Regions from separate parts of the Homo sapiens genome. Here all the other regions are linked to region 2. Evidence: promoter capture Hi-C in 16 types of primary human blood cells and fetal thymus (Javierre and others, 2016). All regions are on one chromosome and are shown on one strand. The core of a region is centred on a gene start or on the middle of the fragment in contact, and the rest is flanking DNA. Distances in the headings are between cores, read along the strand shown.

Region 1 (3,104 bases), core at 44-2,543, 140 kb before region 2:
TTAGGAAGATTAGCAACTGGACTGTCAGGCGAACTCAGGCTGTTGGCCTCAACTCCAAGAGGGAGCGCAGCTAGGCAAAAGAATACGGATTAAGCGGAAGAGGTTGGAACACCTGTCCAGGCCAGGTAGGGGAGGAGTTTCAATGCTGACAAAGAACCCGTTGGGAGAGCTTCCTAAAACACCCAGCTGTCATGACGCACTGAGGAGTACTCTACTAGTTGACTGTTTTGAAGTGTGTGTGTGTGCGCTTGCTTGCTTTAGGAGACAAGCTATTAATACTAAAGCATATGTTAGGGAGTTGCTCAGCGTACTTGATATCTAGTAGCACCAGCCAAACTAGCTAACAGCCTTTCCATGGAGATAGGCCAGGAAGTAGCTCCATAGAGAAAAAAGGAAGTAGTGGACCTGCCTCCAAGGTTCCGATACTGGGAGGTGAAAGAGATCTGAAGTTCCGAATAAGCTGTTTACACTACCAGAGAAAAATCTGGCTCCCATCCAACCCTCACCCACGAGGTGCCCATTCCAGACATGGGGCAAGCTGCCTTCTCATCTTCCGCAGGTGACAGCTCGGCTCACATTTGTCCACGTCTTCCATCTCGTGCGCTGGCAACATACCTAAATGATTACTGGAAGAGCTGCCTCTTTTTATAATTTCCTGACAGAATTTATAAAATTAAAATATTTAATTAAAGACAGAATCGGGGACATGTTGCCTTCACATTTGCTGTTCAACCTGTGCACATTTTGGTGGTTCCCAAGAATCGTCATGCCAAAGCATCAGGCTTGAAAGGAGAGATCACCTTAAGCATCAAGATTTAAAAAAATAAAACACAACTCTCCTCAGTCTAAACTCTAGGATTTGGATGACGCTTCCCTGTCAAGGTTTCTCCCGAGTGGAGGAGACAAGAGGCAGGAAAGGCAGGTAACTAAAATTGCCTCATGTAAAGGGGCTCAGCGCAGAGGAGGAATGAGATAATAGCGGCGGTGGGGGTCTTTTCCCTTCTCTCCCTTTCTATCTTGGAAACAGGGGTCCGACTGGCAGCGGAGTGGGGGCAGTCCAAGCTCCGGGGTACCTGCAGGAGGAGACTCGACCAGCGAGAGGGGCCAGCGAGGGTGACCAGGTGCCCGCTTGGGGACCCCGCCGGCGGTGGCCAGGCTAGCCCAGGTCCTCCCCGATCCCAGGATGCACTGCGCCCCGCCCCCTCCCCGCGCCGCGTTCCGCCTCCCCTCGGCCCCGGCCCCCTCCCGCCCAGCGCGGGGAGGCGGGGACGCGTCGGCGGCGGAGGCTTCTCCAGTCGCGTCTTTCTCACTCACTGGGGAGCCCGGCGGTGGCGGCACCTTTCGAGGTAGACCCGCTGAGCTGCTAGCCCGCCGGCCAGCGAGTGAGAGGTCGGACAGACTGTGGAGCCGACAGACTGAAGGACAGCGGCACCGCCAGACGGCCAGAAAGTTCCGCCATGAGCTGGGGCACGGAGCTGTGGGTGAGTCGGGGAGAGGGGCGCCCCGCACGGACCCCGGCCCCTGAGAAGCGCGGGTTGGGCGGGCGCCGCGGACCCTCGGCGGTGAAAGCGCGCTCCGCCGTCCTCGGTCCGGCGCTGGCGGAGGGTGAGGGTCCCGCTCGTCTTTGTGTGCAGACTCCTCTTCCCTTCTCGGCCGGGGGTCTAGGGGGCCGCTAGTCCGTGCTCCCGCCTTTGCCGCCGTGGTGCAGCTCGGGCGGCGCCCGGGACGGCCGGGGGAGCAGCCCGCGGGCTCCTGCGTGCGCCGTGATCCCCTCTTGTTCCTTCTCCCTCCTCCACCTTCACTTTTCCCGACGCCTGGCTTCGCGCCCGGCGGCTCCTCTCTTCCTTTGTATCTCTCCTCCCGGAGGCGGGGGAGGGGGCCCATTGTCCCCAAGGGGCGCTGTTCGAGGGCGGGGAGGGGACCGGCCGCGATTCCTCGCCCGGGCCAGGTCCGCGGGGCTAGGGCGTCGCCCGTCTGGGGCGGCGCCGCCCAGAGCCCTCGCCCCAGGTATGGGGACCCAGGCGGCTTTGTTCGGAGCCCGGCCTCGGGCCAGCCAGGCCCAGCCCACACGCACATTTCTCTCTCCCTGCCTCAGTGCTTCGGGCGGGCACAGCTTCGAGGGACTCCGGTTTGGCCACCCCCGGCTGCAGCCTTTGGGCTGGTGGGTTGGTTTTGGGGGCTGAATTAAATCGAGTGATCGATGAGGAAGCTAATTTTACCAAAAGGAGCGTACGGTCTCCCTGTTGCTTTACTTCCCTTTCCGTTCTTTATTCTCACTTGTTCTTTCTCCTTCGTTCTCTCCTTTCCTTTCCTCCTTGCCTTTCTTTGGCACAGGAGGCTCCAGACAATGCCCAGTGTCTGGCCAAGGTACGGGCGGAGGGTAATAGGTCGGAGAATTTGCTCCTGGCGCCGGCGCGGAAGGGTCGAGGTGTGGAGGGCAGTGATTTCTCAGGTGCGGAGGGCAGTGATTTCTCAGGTGCGGCCGGGAGAACTGGGGGCGTGGGGGCGCTGTCCCGAGAGCCGCCTGGCCTCAGCCACTCCCCTTTTTATTCCACCTGTGCCTGTTTTCCGTGCCTTTTGTTCGCGAGGATCTCGTGAAATCACTGCAGAGAAAGGGGAGAAATAACTTTTGAGTATGTGTGTGCCCAGCTAGGGTGGGAGTGAAAGCCAATGGGTTAATTGAAAGGCAAAATGTTTTCTTATTTTTCACGTCTACTCATAGATTGGGAATCTTAGAACTGTGAGACTTTAGAGTCCATCTAGTGAATGCTTTACTTAGCCAGCCAGGAATCTCTTGTGCAACATTCTGTACAAGTGCTTACCCAGTCTGAAAACACACCACCCAAGAGAAAATACCTTAGGAGCCCCTTCATTCCGTTTCTTAGATAGCATTAATTGTTCTTATATTGGGGAGGATTGCATGGTAAATGAATTACATAAAGTTTAATTCTTTTACATTGGTTAGTTTCTCAGGCATTATTGGCCTTTTTCCCTTACACTTTGTGCATTCTATAATTGATTATAGTGAATTATCAATGAAAGGAAATGGGTATAGTTTTATTTTAAATTTTTAAATTTTTTATTTTTTTCATGCCTACCAGAGT
Region 2 (3,025 bases), core at 291-2,790:
AAGGGGCTAAAATGTTAGCAATAACTCGTTATTACGGTTATGGTTATAGTGTTCAGTTATCCAGTTTGGAACGATTTATCACTGAAAATTAATACTCATGCAAGTAGTAAACGAATGTAATGACCATGATAAGGAGACGGACGGTGGTGATAGTATCGGTTTTATAATTCTGACAATTTTTCTGGAACATTCCAACATTTGATCAACAGTATACTTCTGTTAGGTCAAAATAGTAGGCTACCATGGTTACTTTAAAATTGCATCTTTGCCTTAAAAATGTTTTCACATAGAAATGCCACTTCTTAGAATTGAGCCTGTGAAAATAATTGTAGGTATGAACACAGCAATCTTAAAGGATATTGGTCAGAGTATTAGAAACACCCTATGTGTCCAGTAAATTGTAGTGCATGCATACCGTGGACAGACATACAATGTAGGCTGGTGCAGAAGAATATTCTACAGTGGGTGAAAATTCCCAGGACATAGTAAGTGAGTAGAATGGGCTACCAAAAAAGTATATGTAGTACAATCTCATACTTGATTTCAAAAAGCCCGGGAGGATGTATGTACACAAAAGTATTCATCGTGGTTATCCCCAGGAGAATTATGAGGAGAATTATGGATAAGAGTTTAATTTCCTTCTTTTTGCTATCTATGTTTTCTACAATCAATTTTAAACTTAAAAAAACAAAGTCAGAATAATAATTATTTATTTGATTGTGCCAAGAAATCTACTACATTAAAAAAAAAAAAAAAAAAAAAAAAGCCTGGGCACAGTGACTCATGCCTGTAATCCCAGCACTTTGGGAGGCTGAGGTGGGTGGATCACTTGAGGGCAGGAGTTCGAGACCAGCCTGGCCAACATGGTGAAACCCCGTCTCTACTAAAAATATAAAAGTTAGCAGGGCATGGTGGTGGACACCTGTAATCCCAGCTACCAGAGAGGCTGAGGCAGGAGAATCGCTTGAACCCAGGAGGTAGAGGTTGCAGTGAGCTGAGATTGTGCTATTGCACTCCAGCCTGGGTGATAGAGTAAGACTCTGTCTCAAAAAAAAGAAAAAAAACTTACGACATGATGCCCTTCCCCCCAGCCCCTGTCCACACACTTCCTGTCATGTTGTCCTTGGTTAATGATTGGCCAGATCAGGTTTACAATAAAAACCCAAGGGAAATTCTATGCCTCAATTCTGCAGACTTACTCTATTTTTCAATTTTTACAGTATTAAATGAAAAAACATTATTTATGGCAATCACCCAAATGACGATCACAAAGTATATTCTGGGCCATGAGTCTGTGGTCATGGGTTTAATTCCCCTTTTTTCCCACCTCTGGGTCACAGGATCCAGTAGGGAAGTGATGGAGAGTGTGAATAACTGCCAGCTCAATGGGGCAGAGGCAGCCTTGTTGATCTGGGCCACCTGCCCTCTCTCCTCCCGAAGCTAAGCCACTGCCTTGAGAAGGAGGGGCTGCAAATGGTCTGAGGCTGCTGGCAGCTGGCCAAGAGTTCAATTACCTGGGCCACAGCCCGCCCTCCTAGTTCTTCCGGTTACTGACTCTGTGGCTGCTGCCTCCCACAACGCTGTGCTTGCAGACCCCAGGAGCGCTGGCTGTCCCTTCACTTCCTGAACATGTGGATGTGTGCTTTGGGTTCTTGACCTCAGCTCTTCCCAAGGTCTTCTTAGAGAAGGGTCTAAATGAAGTCATTTTTAGAGTATTTGTTTTTGGTTACACAGGTGCTTCCGCCCATGTGGCCTCGGAGTGGGACCCTGCGGGTCATCAATCTGTACATTGCCTGAGAGCAGCCGTGTATGCTCTGGAAGGGACAAGACCAGGTACCTGTCGGGGGATGCGGCCGTGGTACCAGGCATGGCTGCGCAGGTCCTCGCTGCTCAGGAGCAGCTCCTCCTCCAGCTCCTTCTTCAGTTTCTCGGGGGTCCTGTCCATGATGTGCCTCTCCTTGGAGAACTGCAACACAGAGTCAACCATGAGCTCACCCTGCCCAGGCCACACCAGGCCATGCCAGCTGGAGGTGACCGCCTGCTTCACTAATCCAACCAGTTATGCTACAGCCTGCATTCAGGTAGGGGAGCCTGGATAATGATTACAAAGAGCTGTGACCTTTCGTTTCTCCGGCCGCAACCATGTAATAAAATTTTCACCTGCACATGGGGACTATGGTAGGAGAGTCCACCAAGAGGTTCCTTTTACCAGTCTACTCAAGCAGCTGGGCAGGAAGGGCCAGAGAGATGTACAGACAGCAAGACACAGCAGCCCAGCCTGCTCTCTTCCCAGCGGAGAGCTTCCTCATTCTCCTTCAGGACTGTCCTGACATAGCGTGGGGAGGGCAGCTGTTCCCTTCTGGCCTTAGATCCTGGGCCTCTGGGCAGTGAGGCCCAAAGCACAGTCCTTGGGCTGGTAGCGATGGCCCTAACTTCTTTGCTGTTGGTAAACTCATGTTCAGGAATTGAGTCAGTCTTTAGAAACTTTTAGGGCAAATGGACAGAGCAATTTTATGTCTCTTGAATCTAATAACAGAAGTCTGTCTTTATTTCACATTTCTAATATTTCATTTTTATGACAGATAGGAAAGTGAAACAAATTTAAAAAGACAACCCTGGTCCTTCACCTCAGATGTTTGAGAATCAGTGGTCTGCGGCGTTGCACAGTGGCCATGGCAGTGAGTGCTGGGTGGACAGCGGTGGCTCCAGGTTTAATTTAGAACCATGCCTGCTTACAACATGTGAACTGAACCTGGAAACCTGCCCAGTTCCCAGCAAGACCAGGCATGCTGACCAGGAACCGCTTGCTGAAAGTCCCATGAACAGAAAAAGGCTGTGTCCCTGTGGTTCTCCCAAGTTTCCCAGCTTGTCCTTCAAACCCCCATGGGAGCCACAAAATTATTACTTATCACACTACTTTTTAAAAATGTTTATTTATTTTATTTTTTTTGAGACAGGGTCTCACTGTGCTAGAGCACAGTGGTGCAATCTCAGCTCACTGTAGCCTTGGCCTCCTGGGCTCAAG
Region 3 (2,998 bases), core at 326-2,825, 210 kb after region 2:
GGGGTCAGGGGTCAGGGACCCACTTGAGGAGGCAGTCTGCCCGTTCTCAGATCTCCAGCTGCGTGCTGGGAGAACCACTGCTCTCTTCAAAGCTGTCAGACAGGGACACTTAAGTCTGCAGAGGTTACTGCTGTCTTTTTGTTTGTCTGTGCCCTGCCCCCAGAGGTGGAGCCTACAGAGGCAGGCAGGCCTCCTTGAGCTATGGTGGGCTCCACCCAGTTCGAGCTTCCTGGCTGCTTTGTTTACCTAAGCAAGCCTGGGCAATGGCGGGCGCCCCTCCCCCAGCCTCGTTGCCGCCTTGCAGTTTGATCTCAGACTGCTGTGCTAGCAATCAGCGAGATTCCGTGGGTGTAGGACCCTCTGAGCCAGGTGTGGGATATAGTCTCGTGGTGCGCCGTTTTTTAAGCCGGTCTGAAAAGCGCAATATTCGGGTGGGAGTGACCTGATTTTCCAGGTGCGTCCGTCACCCCTTTCTTTGACTCGGAAAGGGAACTCCCTGACCCCTTGCGCTTCCCAGGTGAGGCAATGCCTCCCCCTGCTTCGGCTCGCGCACGGTGCGCGCACACACTGGCCTGCGCCCACTGTCTGGCACTCCCTAGTGAGATGAACCCGGTACCTCAGATGGAAATGCAGAAATCACCTGTCTTCTGCGTCGCTCACGCTGGGAGCTGTAGACTGGAGCTGTTCCTATTCGGCCATCTTGGCTCCTCCCCAACACTTATAGTCTTATTTGTCTTCGCTTCCAAACAAAAATATCCATTTCCTATATATTATTTTGAATAGGGGTAAAAATTAGGAACCATGTTTCCATGATTTCAGGATTCCAGATGTTCTGGGGACAGAACAATTCTTCCTGAATTTGTTTGCAATCTAAAACTGAAATTGGATTCCAAATATTATTATTTAGTATGGTTCCATCAACTGCCTGTTGGGAGAACACGGGTATTATTAAAAATGATCCCAATTTCCACTAGCTATACTGCATTATATTTCTGGTTACTGTATATGTGGGTTGCTGAAGCCCTAAGAGTACAGGCTGTGTACCCTGGTAGCAATTTTCCAGGAAGAAGAGGGCCCATATGTTTTCCATAAATGTATACCTTGTGCTTCTGCATCCAAAACGACTGGCCACGTTTTAGAGGCCACTTCTGCTTCCATTTGGATTAGCATGGTCAATAACCTTGTTGAATTTGAACCCATGCTTTTTCTGATTGTTGGGCTTTGGCATAGTCCCTCGTTAGCCAGGCAGTTTGATTCACCCATTTAGCAATAGCATCATTATCTTTCCATGCAGCTTCTCAACCCTCACTTTCCTTCTGAAAGAGTATGCTTTTTATTCTACTTAGGTTGGTAAGTATCAACTTTTCTTGTAAATGTCTTTCTTCATTAAATACATTCTCAACTTGTCTTAATGTCCCAAGTCCTGCCTCTATTGCATTTAAGGCTCTTTTTACAATTTAGTTTGTTTGGAAAAGAAGTTTAGTTAAGCTTTGTTAATAATGGAGTATATCTCCTTTCAGTAAAGTTGGTTCATATAAACTGCCATTTACTTTCATAGGTCAACCTGTAATTATCTCATGGGATAATTGACATATTATTCCAGAAGGAGCTGCTCTTAGGTTAAGCAAAACCAGTGGAAGAGCCTGGGGCCAAGTAATAGGAAAAGCTTTCGATAATTTTCTAGCTGGGTTTTATTTTTGATATATTCATTCTACCAATCAGAAGACTGGGCATGGTATGTACAATAAAAATATTGGAAAATAGGCCAGATTATACAAATTAAGTGAATTATCTGTTCAGTGAAATGAGTTCCCTATTTCTATGTAATTTGGAAAGAATTCCTCAAAAGGAAATTATCCATTCCAACAAACATTTTCCTACTGTCTCAAGGAAATTCTTCAACCCAATGAGAGAACATATAAATCATAACCAATACATATTTATAACCCTGAGCTGGAGGTAAGTGGATAAAATCCATTTGTCAAATATTGAAAGGGCCGGTGGGCAAAGGTAAATGCCCTTGAGATCTAGAAGAGGCTTTCCTGGATTATATATAGGACAAATTGGACATTTAGCACAAACCTTATGAACTACTGTGGGTGAGGGTTTCCAGTAATAGTGTTTTCCCCAGGCAAATATTTTCTCAAGTCCCCAGTGAATGAGTTCATGGACATGCTGTAATATAGGAAATTGATATCCCAAAGGCAAAATAGGGATGTGCTTTCCTGTCACTGGGTCTATATTATATTTTGCAAGTTGGGGGAAAAGCATTCTCCCTTAGTCATATTTGCTTTTTCCGCTTTGGAGCCTTTTCTTGAGCCCCTTCACTTTAAACATGGCCATCTCTACAGTTTCATTTGATATTAGCATTAAGCTAATTTTTATTTTTATTTTTTTTGCTCAGCATCAGCAAAATTATCTCCTTCACTCCAGGGAGTCATGTTTGGAATGTCCAAGACTCTTAACAATAGCCAATTTTTTTTGGTAACTGGATGGCTTCCAGAAGATCAGAAACTTGAGAGCCATGTTTAATAGGATGTCCAGAGGAGGTTAAATAACCTCGCTGTTTCCATAACATTCCAAAGACATGAGCTGCACCAAAAGTGTAATGGCTGTCAGTATAAATATTAGTTATTTGATTTTTGGCCAGTTAGACAACCTCTGGTGAGTACTATTAATCCAGCCAACTGTGCTGACTTTACTTTAGGCAAGAAATTGCTCTCTATGATGTCTACATGAGACACAACGACATAGCTTGTTTGGTATTTTTCAAACTTATCCTTTAGATATGATCCATCTGTGAACCAGGTAACATCAGCATTTTGTAGTGGTATCTCCTGCAAATTCTGACTGGGCATCAAAAGCTGTTCTATTAGTAATAGAACTATACAGCATACAGACTGTATGCTGTTCCATACAGTCATGAGGTAATCTCCTCAGTTGCTTCAAGAAGTAACTTGTGAGATTAAGAGTATTACAGCAAGAGAGGGTAATGTGT
Region 4 (3,335 bases), core at 398-2,897, 160 kb before region 2:
GGCTTGCCCTTGGCAGCCGTAGGATCCAGGCCAGTAGCATGAGCTGAGAGGAGCCTGCCAGGCCAAGTGGGTGGAATAAGCCCAGCAGCCCCAAGCAAAACTCAGCCACAGAGGTTTCCAGCCAGAAAAGCAACAACCCAAGGATCCTGCAACAGTGAGACCCCATCTCTGCAAAAAATTTAAAAATTAGTCAAGTGTGGTAGTACATACCTGCAGTCTTAGCTATTTGAGAGGCTGAGGTAGGAGGATCACTTGAGCCTGGGAAACGAAGGTTGCAGTGAGCCGAGATCACACCACTGCACTGCAGCCTGGGTGACAGAGCAAGACCCTGTCTCAAAAAGGAAAACAGTCATTTTAAAAATAAAGTTTAAAAAATGTATATTAGAAACCCTAAAGTAACCACTAAAATACAAAACAAAGAGTTGTAGCTAATAGGCCAACTGGAGATAAAATGGAATAATAAAAAATACTCAATCCAAGAGAAGTTAACAAGAAAAAGGGGGAACAGAAAACAAATAGGACAAACAGAAAACAAAAAGTAAGATGGTAGACTTAAACCCTACCATATCCTTAATTATGTTAAGTGTAAACATCTTAAACACCCCAATTTAAAGGCAGAGATTGTCAAGTTGGGTAGAAAAGCAAGACCCAACTATATGCTGCCTATAAGAAACCCATTTGAAAAACAAAGTAACAAATAACCTAAAAATTAAAAGATGGAAAAAAATCTCATGCTAACACTAATCAAAAGAATACTAGGATGACAATATTAATTTCAGACAGAGTAGATTTCTGAGCAAAGAATATTGCCAGTGTTAAAAAGAATCATCCTAAATCCAGGTACAGTGATGTGTGCCTGTAACCCTAGCTACTCCAGATGCTGAAGCAAGAGGATCACTTGAGCCCAGGAGTTTGAGACCAGCCTGGGCAACATAGTGAAAAAAAAGTTAAAAAATTAGCTTGGTGTGGTGGCGAGTGCCTGTAGTCCCAGCTACTCAGGAGGCTAAGGTGGGAGATCACTTGAGCCCGGGAAAAATTGAGGCTACCTTGAGCCATGATTATGCCACTATACTTTAGCCTAGATGACAGAGTGAGACCCTATCTCAAAAAAAAAAAAAAAAAGAAAAGAAAATGAGATAAAACAAAGGAGTCAATTGGTCAAGAGAACTTAGCAATTCTCAATGTTTATGCACCTGATAATTAAGCTTCACATACACAAAATAAAACTGATGGAACTGCAAGGAAAAATATATAAGTTCACAATTATAGTAAGATACTTTGGCATCTTTCTCATTAGAATTTAATAGAAGAGATAAACAGAAAATCTGTAAAGATATTGAAGATTCAAACACCATAAACCAACTTGACCTAATTGAAATTTATCAAATACTTCACCCAACAGCAACAAAATACATGTTCTTTTCTAATATCCACAAAACATTTACCAAGATAAGTCATATTCTGATCAAAAACCGAGTCTCAGTAAGTTGAAAATAATTCAAATATACAAAATATGACAACAAGAAAATTAAATGGAACTCAACAACAGAAAGATATCTGAAAAATCCCCAAATAGGTGGATATTAAACATAAATAACACACTTCTAAATAACTCAAGTATCAAAAAGGCAAGCAAAAGAATGTTAGAAATTATTTGAATTGAGTAAAAAGAAAAATTTGTGAGATGATGCTAAAGCAGTGCTTAGGAGGAAATATATAGCATTAAGGGCATATATATTTTAAAAATTGTTTCAAATTAGTGACCTTAGGAAACTGTAAAAAGAAGAACAATTCAAATCCAAATCAGCCAAAGAAAGTAATAAATATAAGAGCAGAAATCAGAGAAATGGAAAACAAATAAGCAAGAAGAATAGAGAAAATCAATAAAGCCAAAAACAGATTGAGAAGATCAATAAAATTGATAAACCTGTAGCCTGACTGATAGGAGACAAAAGAAGATACACATCACTAATATTGAGAAGGAAAGGGTGACATAATTATAGGTTCTATAAACATTAAGAGGATAATAAGGGACTATTATAACTTTTTACTAATATATTCAACAACTTAAATGAAATAGGCAAGCTACCAAAGCTTACTCAAGAAGAAATAGTAATATGCAAAGTTTTATTTTTATTAAAGAAATCAAATTTTTAATTAAAAATTTTCCCATTAAGAAAACTCCAGGCCCAGATGGCTTCACTGTTGAAGTCTACCAAAATGTAAAAGCAAAATAATAACAGTTCTACAAAAATTCTTTCAGAAAATTGAAGAAGAAGAAACTTCCCCTAATTCATTATATGAGACTAGCATTCACCCGGTACCAAAACCAAACAAAAACACAGAAGATAATGAAACTGTATGCCACTGTTCTTCATGAACATTGAAATAAAATTCCTCAACAAAATGTTAGCAAAATAAATCCCGTAATGAATACAATGGTTAATATATTCTGACCAAACTAGTTTATCCCACAAATGCAAGACTGGTGAAAAAAATTAGAAAATTAACCAATGTAATTTAATCTACACACACACACACACACACACACACACACACACACACACACACACACAAATTCTTCTCAATAGCTGAAAGAAAAACATTTGACAAGGTCTTACATTCATTCCTAACGAAAACTTTCATCAGTGTAGGAATAGAAGGGAATTTCTTTTACCTGACAAAGTCCATATATAAAAAATTTACAGCTACCGTCATGGTTTATCATGAACAACTGAATGCTTTCTGTCTAAGATTCCAAAGAAAGAAAGAAATGTCCATGCTCACCTCTTTTTCTTTGACAGGTTCTCGCTTTATCACCCACACTGGAATGCAGTGGCGCTATTATGGCTCACTGCAGCCTTGACCTCCTGGGCTCAATTAATTCTCCTATCTCATCCTCCCAAGTAGCTGGGAATACAGCTGTGCACCAGCATGCCTAGCTAATTTTTTTTTTTTTGTATTTTTGGTAGAGACAGGGTTTCACCACGTTACCCAGGCTTGTCTCAAACTCCTGGGCTCAAGTAATCCTCTTGCCTTGGTCTCCCAGAGTGTTGGGGTTTATAGGCATGAGCCACTGGATGGGTCCTCCATGCTCACCTCTTCTATTCAACATTTTATTAAGAAAATAAAAAGAAGTAACAGTATATAAATTATAGAAGAAGAAGGAAAATTTTATTTGGAACAACAAAATCATCTAGGTAGAAAATCTTAAGGAACCCCTCAAGAAAGATAATATAACTATATAACTAAGAAGTGAGTCATCATTGAAGTATATATAATGTACAAAATACATAAAAATATTAACCACAGTCAGGAATCAAAATTCTACAACC

What was found. The method cuts DNA at HindIII sites, captures the fragments that hold promoters and counts their contacts. A CHiCAGO score of 5 or more calls a contact.
Region 1: a contact is called between the fragment with the promoter of FNBP1L here and the fragment with the promoter of BCAR3-AS1 in region 2, in 15 of 17 cell types (erythroblasts, M0 macrophages, megakaryocytes and 12 more). The highest score is 27.9, in erythroblasts.
Region 3: a contact is called between a fragment that was not itself captured here and the fragment with the promoter of BCAR3-AS1 in region 2, in 6 of 17 cell types (naive B cells, total B cells, M1 macrophages and 3 more). The highest score is 6.5, in naive B cells.
Region 4: a contact is called between a fragment that was not itself captured here and the fragment with the promoter of BCAR3-AS1 in region 2, in 4 of 17 cell types (megakaryocytes, erythroblasts, endothelial precursors and 1 more). The highest score is 7.6, in megakaryocytes.

Annotation. Positions count from the first base shown.
Region 1 is chr1:93,446,825-93,449,928 of GRCh38, forward strand. FNBP1L (formin binding protein 1 like) reads left to right here and starts at 1,294. Exons shown (of 17, transcript NM_001164473.3): 1 at 1,294-1,481. The coding sequence starts at 1,458. RefSeq lists silencers at 168-462, 1,402-1,451 and an enhancer at 943-1,921. The HindIII fragment of the contact is 14,675 bases long and covers 1-3,104 here.
Region 2 is chr1:93,590,428-93,593,452 of GRCh38, forward strand. It overlaps BCAR3-AS1 (BCAR3 antisense RNA 1), which reads left to right and starts at 1,541. Exons shown (of 4, transcript NR_034091.1): 1 at 1,541-2,081. BCAR3 (BCAR3 adaptor protein, NSP family member) reads right to left here. Exons shown (of 12, transcript NM_003567.4): 4 at 1,838-1,966. RefSeq lists enhancers at 1,737-2,237, 1,744-1,903. The HindIII fragment of the contact is 15,312 bases long and covers 1-3,025 here.
Region 3 is chr1:93,795,969-93,798,966 of GRCh38, forward strand. It overlaps a transcript of BCAR3 not described here. Among named protein-coding and RNA genes, the nearest start is that of MIR760, 49 kb to the right of the region's middle. RefSeq lists an enhancer at 1-488. The HindIII fragment of the contact is 178 bases long and covers 1,487-1,664 here.
Region 4 is chr1:93,427,894-93,431,228 of GRCh38, forward strand. No RefSeq gene overlaps it. Among named protein-coding and RNA genes, the nearest start is that of FNBP1L, 19 kb to the right of the region's middle. The HindIII fragment of the contact is 889 bases long and covers 1,204-2,092 here.